Linked DNA regions of Homo sapiens: region 2 is linked to region 1. The links are contacts of gene promoters, found by promoter capture Hi-C in human tissues and cell types (Jung and others, 2019). All regions are on one chromosome and are shown on one strand. Each heading gives the region's core, a stretch centred on a gene start or on the middle of the fragment in contact. The rest is flanking DNA. Distances are from core to core; before and after follow the strand shown. Region 1 holds the start of DCT (dopachrome tautomerase). Region 2 overlaps TGDS (TDP-glucose 4,6-dehydratase).

The links. The method cuts DNA at HindIII sites, captures the fragments that hold promoters and counts their contacts. A contact is called where the count stands out against the background at its distance.
Region 2: a fragment that was not itself captured here is called in contact with the fragment with the promoter of DCT in region 1 in 4 of the 25 tissues and cell types used here (lymphoblastoid cells, neural progenitor cells, pancreas and 1 more).

The regions. Positions count from the first base shown.
Region 1 is chr13:94,476,405-94,482,509 of GRCh38, reverse strand. It overlaps DCT (dopachrome tautomerase), which reads left to right and starts at 2,828. Exons shown (of 8, transcript NM_001922.5): 1 at 2,828-3,549. The coding sequence starts at 3,255. The HindIII fragment of the contact is 3,749 bases long and covers 7-3,755 here.
Region 2 is chr13:94,584,244-94,590,348 of GRCh38, reverse strand. The region is part of intron 4 of TGDS (TDP-glucose 4,6-dehydratase); the gene reads left to right. Among named protein-coding and RNA genes, the nearest start is that of TGDS, 8.9 kb to the left of the region's middle. The HindIII fragment of the contact is 8,575 bases long and covers 1-6,097 here.

The DNA of each region.
Region 1 (6,105 bases), core at 1,579-4,078:
ATAAAATAAGGTAATGTGGTAGAGAGAAGGTGGCTGGCTGTAGACGTGTTAAAATATCATGGAAGGCCTCTCTGAGAAGCTGAGGGCTCTGAGCAAGATTATTCCAGACAGAGGGAATGGCAAGACAAAGGCCAAGGTGGAAATGAATGGGGGCATGTTTGAATAATAGTGATTGCAATAGTCTGCCATCCAGAAGAAGAGATTGAGAGGCAGGCGAGGGAAAAATCATGGAGGATCTTTTAAGCTAGTTCTCAAACTATCCATGGTAAATGATTAAAAAAGAAAAATGTTCCAGCCACAGACTAACACGTGATCCAACTGCACATGACTCATTGCATTCAGCCTGTGCTCCGTGATCATCACCATGCACGTTTGGCAACCTCACAGCCGGACTCTCCCCTCTTGAATGAAACTACTGATCGTATGCCTGAATGTTATCCCAATGTCAAATTGCTATGAAAATTTCCCAGTGTTGACTCTCAATTTCTATTCTTATTGTTCTTAACTTGATGTAAACCAGGAACACACCATTCACGGATCTGTTGGCCACACTTTGAGTAGCACATGCAAAGCACCTCGGATTTTACTTGAAGTGCATTGGAAAGCACACATGGGGAGGTGGGAAAGAGAAGACTCAAAGATCACTTGTAGGGTTGTGGTGATGCTGCTCTTTGTGGAGATGGAGAAGACCAATGGAGAACACATTTGGGAGGAGAGAGCAAAAGTTCTCAACTTGGGTGAGAAATATCTAAACCTTCAAGTAGAGAGGTCCAGTAGGAAGTTAGATAATATGAGTCTGGGGCTCACAACTGAGGTCAAAGTCAGAGTTGTAATTTTGGAAAGTCATGATAGCCTGCATTTAAGGCCTCAGACTAGCTGAGTTATCTAGCAAGTGTGGAAATGAAAGAAAAGAGATCCTAGGACTTCGACCTGGGGCATTCTGACATAAGAATTATTGACTCCATCAGTTTTAACATCCAAGAAATTTTATCTTAACATTTATGGAGCCCCAAGGCTTCACAAAAACCTGGAATAAAATTCCCAAGTGTCACAATGCTGGCATGAAGTGGCAGTCAATAAATATACATGGAATGAATGAATGAGCTCCAAAATAAAGGTTTCAAAAACCCCTGAGATTTTGCGATTTTAGAACCCCAAGTTTCTTCCCACCCATGATGTGTTAGGTTGAATGGTGACTTCCCCAAAAGATATGTCCATGTCTCAGAACCTGTGAATGTGACTTTGTCTGGAAAAAAGAGTCTTCTTTGCAGATGTAATTGAGTGAAGAATCTTGAGATGAGATCATCCTGGATTATCTGAGTGGGCTCTACATCCAATAAGTGTCCTTATAAGAAACAGACATGGAGGAAAAACACAGACAGATGGGGAGAAGGCCATGGGGCTGTGGCAGACATTGGAGCTGCGGTTTCAAGCCAAGGATTGACAGCAGCTGCCAGAAGCTTGAAAAGGCAAGGAGGATTCTAGCCTAGAGTCTCCAGGGAGAGTGCAGCCGCCTGGCTGACACACGCCAGTCCTGCCAACACCTTCATTTTAGACTTCTGGCCTTCAGAACAGTGAGAAAATAGATTTCTGTTGTTTTCAGTCATCCAGTTTGTGGTCATTTGTTACAGAAGCCTCAGGAAACTATTGCACATGGTCTCTTTTAGCTGATGCTGATGCAATATTTCCTTTGGAGCTCTGCTGTATTCTGATTCAGTGATTCTCAACTCTGGCTGAGCATTAGAATTGCCTAGATGTTTTCTAACAAAGGTTGGTTGGTGTCTGGAACATCCTCAGAGATTCTGATTCAGTAGGGCTGTGGTACAGGCTGATATTGGTGTAGAGTCAGACATAAGAATTGCCATTTAATTAGTCACAACAACTTAACATCAAGGGGTGGCACAGAGGTACAGGGGGTGGGAATACCTATATAATTGTTTCACCTTAGGAATTTGCTTTGAAACATAACAATATGTGTCTTTACATTCAAGTATATTCTTAGAAACTAGCTGAAGCCGTTTCGCATCCTTGTGGCACTAAGTCCTGTTTCCACTGTGAAACAGTTACCAAGACAGTCCTGTTTCCACTGTGAAAAAATAAATGGATGTTCTGACAGGTGGCCACCATTGCTGACCTGACCATTCTCCAGAAGCACCAGGAGGCATTGCTTTCTAGACTGAAGCTCAGTCATGCTTCACTTTAGTCTAATCAAAAAGATTTGCTTGCAAGCCTTCATTCCAAATGGTTCCAGTGCCTTCCATACAATCAGATAATGACAATTGTGAGTTTCTGGTGGCATGCTACTTCATGTAATTAAAAAAAAATTGCTGCGTAGATGTGCTGAATAGGAGAAGAGTAAGTTATTATTTGGAGGGAAGAGGATTCCCAATTGTGGAACAAAGCAATTCCTTGTACCCTGGTTCTACATAAATGTTTCTTTATTTTTGAAGTTGCATGACCCCCTGTTGTGGTCTTTTTTGCACACATGTCAGAAAGCAGCCATGAGTGCATTGTAGTTGGCAATGTGAGCTTCTGTGTAAAGGGTCTTTGACGAAGAGCTCACTGCATCTACTGACTCCCCAGGATGTCTGAGGTCACAAGTTTGGCTGGAGCACATGAGCCCAGATAAAGAAGATGGTTTTGCCCTCCTGAAATAAAGCCAGAAGTGATCTCCTTTATTGTGCACTTTGGGTCATGTGCTAATGATGAGGGTTTCTGTAATACTAATCCCCCTAATGAAGGCTTCTCCCAGCCCTTACACAAGCCCCCAAGGCCCCGTGGCTTGGCAAGCCAGAGAGAATAAAAGCAGCACGGTGTTTGGCTTTTGAACTGAGTTCAAGGCAATTAAAGTCAAGAGCTAAGGAGGGAGGGAGAGGGTTTAGAAATACCAGCATAATAAGTAGTATGACTGGGTGCTCTGTAAATTAACTCAATTAGACAAAGCCTGACTTAACGGGGGAAGATGGTGAGAAGCGCTACCCTCATTAAATTTGGTTGTTAGAGGCGCTTCTAAGGAAATTAAGTCTGTTAGTTGTTTGAATCACATAAAATTGTGTGTGCACGTTCATGTACACATGTGCACACATGTAACCTCTGTGATTCTTGTGGGTATTTTTTTAAGAAGAAAGGAATAGAAAGCAAAGAAAAATAAAAAATACTGAAAAGAAAAGACTGAAAGAGTAGAAGATAAGGAGAAAAGTACGACAGAGACAAGGAAAGTAAGAGAGAGAGAGAGCTCTCCCAATTATAAAGCCATGAGCCCCCTTTGGTGGGGGTTTCTGCTCAGTTGCTTGGGCTGCAAAATCCTGCCAGGAGCCCAGGGTCAGTTCCCCCGAGTCTGCATGACGGTGGACAGCCTAGTGAACAAGGAGTGCTGCCCACGCCTGGGTGCAGAGTCGGCCAATGTCTGTGGCTCTCAGCAAGGCCGGGGGCAGTGCACAGAGGTGCGAGCCGACACAAGGCCCTGGAGTGGTCCCTACATCCTACGAAACCAGGATGACCGTGAGCTGTGGCCAAGAAAATTCTTCCACCGGACCTGCAAGTGCACAGGTGAGGCCCATGCTCCAAGCTTGGTGGGGAGGGCCAGAGCTGGGGAAAGAGCTCCTTCTAAGGAAGAGATGAGACTCTTGACAGAGACTCTTAGATTAGGCTTTGAAAGGCAAACCAATGATGGTTTTGGTCGGAAGCATATTCAATAAGGCTGATGTGCTGGTTTATTCTTCACACCCTCTAGTACATCTAGTTATGAAGACTAAATAAATATGGCGTGGGCCAAGCCTGCTTATATGAATGCATGCCAACATACTATTGGCTTGTTTGTTGGAAGGGGAATTTAAGAGCTTAAAAGCGTCAGCTTTGAAACTCGGAGCAAGTCCTTTCAAGATGGATTCGGTGCCCTCTCCTGAAATGGGTTTGCACTTGTTGAAAAGGGATGGGTGAAGCTTGGCATTCGGAAGACAGGAGTCAAAGGCAGGTGTTCTGGTCTCAGCATTTCTCATGATTTGAACAGATCTCTCTCTCTCTCTTTTTTTTGGAGATGGAGTCTCGCTTTGTCACCGTGGCTGGAGTGCAATGGTGCTATCTCAGCTCACTGCAACCTCCATCTCCCGGGTTCAAGTGATTCTCCTGCCTCAGCCTCCCAAGTAGCTGGGATTACAGGCACCCGCCATCATGCCTGGCTAATTTTTGTATTTCGAGACGGGGTTTCACCATGTTGGCCAAGCTGGTCCCGAACTCCTGACCTCAGCAGGGTGCATGTTTCTCATTAAAGCTTATGACCAGGTTGTAACTTTGACAAAATTGTCGAGACGTGGCAAGACAGAGCTTTCTCGAGGAGCTGGGGGTGGGGGGGGCGGGCGGGGGGTTGTTATTAGATAACAATGGCTTTTTGTCACTCTTCTCTGGACTTGAACCGGACATCACAAAATTTGCTCAGTGTCCTTCCTTTAGACTCTGGTCTCTCTCATTACCTGTTGCTTTGACATCTCTGTGCATTTCTCATTCCTCTAGCTCTTTGGGGCTTTTTCAAATCCTCTTCAATCTTTCCCACCTCCAGTTTCCAGCAGCCATATGCCCTTCGGGAATAAACACTCAAAGCCTGGCAGGGGGCCACTGAAATACAAAAAACACAAGTGGCAACCTCAGGAAAGCCCTTGGACACTGTTGTAGGCTGGGTGGTTGCAGAAGACTTTTTCCTTTTAAAAATACTTTTTACTTCTCTTCTCATAGGATGCTGGAACATAGGAGGATATAGGTCATTGAGCTTCATAAGGGGTTGAATAGGTATTACTAAGGGAACATACAAAGGCCTGTGATGTTGGTGTAGGAATGACATTCGATTTTTTTTTTTAATTTTAACTTTCAACTTTATTTTAGATCCTGGGGATACAAGTGCAGGTTTGTGACATAGATATATTGCACAGTGCTAGGGTTTGAGATATGATTGATCCTGTCACCCAGGTAGTGTGCGAAGCACCCAGTGGGTAGTTTTTCAACCTTTGACCCCTCCCTCCCTCCCCTCTCTAGCAGTCCCCAGTGCCTATTGTTGCCATCTTTATGTCCATGAGTGCCCAGACATTAGATTTCTTTTTTCACATTAAGAGTTCTGGCTTTAGGCCTGGTGCAGTGGCTCACGCCTGTAATCCCAGCACTTTGGAAGGCTGAAGTGGGTGGGTCACTTTGAGGTCAGGAGTTTGAGACCAGCCTGGCCAACATGGTGAAACCTTGTCTCTACTAAAAATACAAAAATTATCTGGGTGTGGTGGCAGGCACCTGTAATCCCAGCTACTCTGGGGGCTGAGACAGGAGAATCTCTTGAACCCAGGAGGCAGAGGTTGCAGTGAGCAGAAATCACACCACTGCACTCCAGCCTGGGTGACAGAGTGAGATCTGTCTCAAAAAAATAAATAAATAAATAAATAGTTCTGGCTTTATAATCATTTTGTAGTAATATTTTTAATTCTGTCATTCAGAAGAATATCTAGGTCCTGGTTTTGCCCTGGGTATTAATCATGACAAAAATTTCAATAACATATTGGATATATATTATCCAGCTTTTCTAAGTTTTTTAAGCATTTGCTTCTATAGACCTTCTCTCAAAATTATCATGGTGTTTTAGACGAATGAGGAGCAGGTTGCTGGTGTGGTTAGCGTGATTGAAAACCACACTAACACAGTAACTTCTTTGTTCAAAACCCCAAAATACTTCTAGAACAATTATTTCTATGTCAATCAATGAAAAAGTGCTGGCCAAGCGCAGTGGCTCACGCCTTTGGGAGCCAAGCACTTTGGGAGGCCAAGACGGGTCAGGAGTTCAACACCAGCCTAGCCAACATGGTGAAACCCTGTCTCTACTAAAAATACAAAAATTAGCGAGGTGTGGTGATGGGCACCTGTAATCCCAGCTACTTGGGAGGCTGAGACAGGAGAATCACTTGAACCCAGGAGGTGGAGGTTGCAGTGAGCTGAAATCGCGCCACTGCACGCAGCCTGGGCAACAATAGAGTGAGACTGTGTCTCAGAAAAAAAAAAAAAAAAAAAAGAAAGTGCCAACACTTTCAAAAAGTTGTAAATCTGCATTGCATAGAATCCTGAGGCAGAGGACTT
Region 2 (6,105 bases), core at 561-3,060, 110 kb before region 1:
CTGCCTATTACCAGATTTAAAGTTATAATTTCCTTTGCTTTTGTCTACACTTTTGTTGTCTGTATATTTATCCCTAAACAATACAGCTTAACTTAGGGTGTTTTTAAATATATGTATATTTAATATTATATATATAAATATACTTAATATATGTTAAATATATATTTTATATATATATATAATGATATGTAGAGTTTTTTTTGTTTTTTCAAAATCGATGTAGATTAATCCATGGAGTTGGATATAGATACAGTTTGTTTGTTTTCAGTGTCATAATATTCCAGTCTAAAAATACATATATACACATACACTGTAGTAGTTTACTTAATATACTTTATTCTTGATGGCCATTTGGGTTCTTTACACTTTGGAGCAATTTTGAGCACTACTACCTTGAACATGTATCATGATACATAAGTATACATTACATTTGGCTATATAACAGATCATAAGATCTGCATACTTCACGTTGAGATAATGTCAAAACATGTTCCAAAGTAATTATACCAACTTCCACTCCTCCAGAAGTGTGTGACTTCCTGTTGCTCCAGATATCACCAAATCTTAGTTTTGTCAGTCTTTCCATTTTTGCCAATTTCAGTGCTGTGTAGTGGTTTCTCATGTTTCTAATTTGTATTTTCCCTGATTACTAATAAGATTAAGTACTTTTCATATGATTTTTTGTAATTTGGATTTCTCCTTTATGAAATGCTGTTGAAATCTTTTGTCCATTTTGGCCGGGAGCGGTGGCTCACGCCTGTAATCCCAGAACTTTGGGAGGCTGAGGCGGGTGGATCACGAGGTCAGGAAATCGAGACCATCCTGGCTAACACGGTGAAACCCCTTCTCCACTAAAAGTACAAAAAATTAGCCGGGCGTGGTGACAGGCGCCTGTAGTCCCAACTACTCGGGAGGCTGAGGCAGGAGAATGGCGTGAACCCGGGAGACAGAGCTTGCAGTGAGCTGAGGTTGCACCACTGCACTCCAGCCTGGGTGACAGAGAGACTCCATCTTAAAAAAAAAAAAAAAGAAATCTTTTGTCCATTTTAAAATGGGATTGTTTACCTTTTTCTCATTGAAAGAGAAGTTTCAATGAGAAAAAATGGCAAGTAGAGTTTTTATATATTCAGGACACTAGTTCTTTATCATTACATATGTTACAGAGCCTTCTCTGTATGGCCTATCTTCTCACTTTTTTGACAGTGTGTTTTGATGAACAGATGTTTTCAATGTATGTTTTTTCCTTTATGCTTAATGCTTTTTCAGTTCTTAAATTCTCTCCTACCCCAAGGTCACGAAGATGTATTTTTGTATATTATCTTTTCAAAGCTTTATAATTTTGTCTTTTATGTTTAGATTTGTAATCCATCTGAAATTAATTCTTATATAACCCCAATTTCATGTTTTTCCATGTGAATACCAATTGTTCCTGTACCATTTATTGAAAAGTTCACCAGTTTCTGCCCTCCGTCATATCAAGTTTATTTTTGTATCTCTGTCTCTCTTCATTTATTTGTCTCTGCCTGTCTGATTACGCACTATATTGACGAATACAATGATTTCATGTCTGTTAAAGCAAGTCCTTCTACTTGGTTAATGATAAAAGCAGTTGTGCACTTCTACCAGCAATTTATGAGATGCTTGCCAACACTTGCTGTGTCAATTTTGTGGTTTTATTTTTCCCTGATGAAGTTAAAAACCTTTCCATTTGTTTATTGGACTATTCTCCCTCTCTTTGTTAGTATATCCTCTTTGGAAAATTTCCATTTAAGTTTCGTGACCATTTCCTATTAGGTTGTCAGTTTTTTCCTTATAGATTTTTATAAGTCCTTTATGTATTTTGGATCCAAGCCTTTTGCAGCTACCTTTTTTTCAGTCTGCTTTGCCTTTTTGCATTCTTTTTTTTTTTTTTTTTTTTTTTTTTTTTGAGACAGAGTCTCGCTGATTGCCCAGGCTGGAGTGCAATGGCATGATCTCAGCTCACTGCAACCTCCGCCTCCCAGATTCAAGCGATTCTCCTGCCTCAGCCTCCTGAGTAGCTAGGATTACAGGCATGCGCCACCACGCCCAGCTAATTTTGTATTTTTGATAGAGATGGGGTTTCACCATGTTGGCCAGGCTGGTCTTGAACTCCCAACCTCAGACGAGCCACCCTCCTCAGGTGATCCACCCGTCTCAGCCTCCCAAAGTGCTGGGATTACAGGCGTGAGCCACCACGCCCAGCCTTTTCCCGTTTTCAATGGTGTCTTATTATTAGTGAAAGTTCTTAATTACAATGTGGGTTAATTTATCTTTACCTTTTTCTTTAGGGGTAGTGCTCTTTCTGTCTCTTTTTTTTTTTTTTTTTTTTGAGATGGAGTGTCTTGCTCTGTCACCCAGGCTGGAGTGCAGTGGCGCAATCTCGGCTCACTGCAAGCTCTGCCTCCTGGGTTCATGCCATTCTCCTGCCTCAGCCTCCCGAGTAGCTGGGACTACAGGCGCCCGCCACCACACCCGGCTAATTTTTTGTATTTTTAATAGAGACGGGGTTTCACCGTGTTAGCCAGGACGGTCTCGATCTCCTGACCTCGTGATCCACCCGCCTCAGCCTCCCAAAGTTCTGGGATTACAGGCGTGAGCCACCGCACCCGGCTCTGTCTTGATTAAGAACTCATTTCCCACCTCCAAGGTCATGGACATGTTGTCTTATAATTCTTTTCTTAAAAGTTATTGTTTTTCCTTTTACATTTAGATTTCTTCCCCATACCCATATCAATTTGACTCAAAATCATTTATTGAAAAGACTTGACTTTTCCTCATTGTCAGTTTTGTCATGGGTCAAATGTTTATATACGTATGCTTTTGTTTCTCGGCTCTATTCAATTCTGTTGGTCTTTGTCTGTGCTTATACTATTATCACACTGTCTTAATTACTGTAGCTTTATAATAATTCTTTATACCAGCAAAGCAAACCTCCCACCCTGTTGTTCCAAAAAACAACATTTGACATTTGACATTGTTGTTCCAAAAAAACAATCTTTGACATTGTTGATCTTTTCTTATGCGTGTTTGTTTTCTATATAATGAATTTCTGGTCTTACCTTTATTATTTCATTATTTCTACTTTGTTTAGGCTTACTTTCTATTCTTTTTTCTAATCTTTGTGATATATTTAGCTTATTAATTTTCACGTTTTCTCTAATGTATGCATTTTAGACTATAAATTTACTTCTAAATACTGGTTTATCTGAATCCTACAGGTTTTCATATGTATTTTTTCATTATCTTTTAAGAGTTTGATTTCTTGCTGGGTGCAGTGGCTAACACCTGTAATCCTAGCACTTTGAGAGGCCAAGGCAGGCGAATCACTTGAGCCCAGGAGTTCCAGACCAGCCTGGGCAACATGGTGAGACCCTGTCTGTACAAAAAATAATAATAAAAAATAAAGCCAGGCATGATGGCATGTGCCTGTAGTCCCAGCTACTTGGGAGGCTGAGGTGAGAGGATCACTTGAGCCCAAGAGGTGGCGGTTGCAGTGAGCTGAGATCGCACCCCTGCACTCCAGCCCGGGCAATAGAATGAGACCTTGTCTCAAAAAAAAAAAAAAAAAAAAAAAAATAATTTGATTTCTTCTCTCATCCGTGGGTTACTTAGACACGTATGTCTTAATTTCCAAACATGTATGGGTTTTCTTGTTCTTATGGAATTCTAGCTTAATTGTATGTGATTAGATAACGTACTCTATGATTGTAGTCCTTTATGCTACGACTTGCTTTTTGGTTCAGTATATGGTCACTTTCCGTAAATCGTGTGTGTATTGAAAAGAATGTTAACTTGCAAACATTGGGTCCATTGTTCTTTACACATCCATTAGGTTAAGTTGGTTAATGATGTTCTTTAAATCTCTTGTATATTTCTGGTGAATTGAACCTTTTATACTTATGAAGTGATCTTTTTTCCCCGGTGATGTGTACTGCTTTAAAATCTATTTTGTTTGACATTAATATAGCTGTGTTACTTCCTTTTTGGTTAGTATTTTCATGATACTTTTTCCATCTTTTTATTTCCAAACTTTCTCTAGTTTTATGGGTTAGCTGCATGTCTTGTAAACAACATGTATTTGGATTTTGATTTTTTTAAACCCATTCTGACCCTCCTCGGCATTTGCCCTCAGTGTTTAGTTTGTTGCTGTATTTGGATTTATTTCTACCATCTTACTGTACGCTTTCTTTTCCCACCTGTTCTGTTTCCTTGGTTGCTGCTTACTTTTTTTAAAAAAAAGAATTATTCCTTTGTAAAAAATTGTTTATTTTAAAAAACTGCTTGCTTGCTTTTTTTAAGGATTTGACTGAGGAATTTTTCTTATTCTCTTTTTCTCCCTCTACTAGTTTGGAAATTATATGTTCTGTTTGTACTCTTGGAGTGGTTACTCTACAAATTACAGATGTGTAATTAGCTTATCAAAGTGTAAAGTTCATCAAAACCTTTGCCCTCTTCCTATTTAATTTCCAACTCCATTTTTAGCTATTTTTAACTCAGTTTTTATCTGGATTTTTTTTTTTTTTTTTTTGAGACAGAGTCTTGTTCTGTCACCTAGGCCAGAGTGCAGTGTTGTGATCTCGGCTTACTGCAACCTCTGCCTCCCAGGTTCAAGCAGTTCTCGTGCTTCAGCCTACCAAGTAGCTGGGATTACAGGCGTGTGCCACCACGCCCGGTTTATTTTTTTGTATTTTGAGTAGAGACGGGGTTTTGCCATGTTGGCCATACTAGTCTCAAACTCCTGACCTCAGGTGATCCACCCACCTGGGCCTCCCAAAGTGCTGGGATTACGGGCATTAGCCACCATGTCCTGCCTGGAATTTTAAATTGATCTTATTTTATTTTGTTTTTTTATTTCCACTAGATGACATTATTACTATTTTATATAGTCAGTAGTCATTATATTAGGGGTTTACAAAATGATATCCTAATTATGTCATTCTTCATTTATACCTGGAATATCTACATAAAAAGAAGTTTTCCAGCCAGGCGCAGTGGCTCACGCCTGTAATCCCAACACTTTGGGAGGCTGAGGTAGGTGGATCACCTGAGGTCAGGCGTTCAAGACCAGCCTCGCCAACATGGTGAAACCCCATCTCTAAAATACAAAAAAGTTAGCTGGGCGTGGTAGTGGGCACCTGTAACCCCAGCTACTCGGGAGGCTGAGACACAAGAATGGCTTGAATCTGGGAGGCAGAGGTGGCAGTGAACTGAGATTGCGCCACTACACTCCAGCCTGGGCAACAGAGAGAGAGAGAAAAAAAAAAAGTTTTCCTTATACATTATTTGGTTACCTTGAGATTTAATTGTTATGGAAAAGCCAGGTTAAGTGCCTGATTATTTTTATTTATTTAGTAGATTTTACTATAATGAGTTGGTTTCCAAGCATCCTCATTTTTCTTTTTTCTTAATATTGCTATGAATTTGTAGATTTTAACACATTTGATTTTGTTTGTTTTAATCATTTGCAGTTATTTTTCTTATTTATGTTCAAAATGACTCACCATTAGCCATTGAGAGGCTCTTCTAGTTGCTTCCTGAGTCCTTTTTGACATGACCTTAGCAGTCTTTGACAACCATCTAACTTTCTGGTTTGATAGGATGTTTCAGTTTTATCTTCAATGTTTTTCCCCCTAGATCTGGAATCAGCCCTTTCTGTCAGGAGCCATTGTTCCTTTTGGTGGGAAATGGTGTTTAGAGGCCACAGTCTGGGCACTGGGAGTGCTTATTAACTGATTGGACATTGTGTCAAGGCTTTTTCAGTTAACAAAACTAGGGAATATTATTTGCCTATTTACTTAAGATTAAATATGACATGGGTTTATACTGAAATGTCCAATCCGCATTGAGATTTTTTGTTTAAGTTCTTCAGTCTTTCATTTATATCATCTTTTCCATACCCTGAACACCTTGGTTCTCAACAGCACCATCCTAATTACTCATTTACTTTATTCCAAAACACACAGTGAGTCCACATTTCTTCTTTTAAGGACACCAGGTAGATCGGATTAGGACCCATCCTAAAGACCTGATTTTCACTTAATCACCTCCTTAAGAGCCCTATCTCCAAATATAGTCACATTCTGA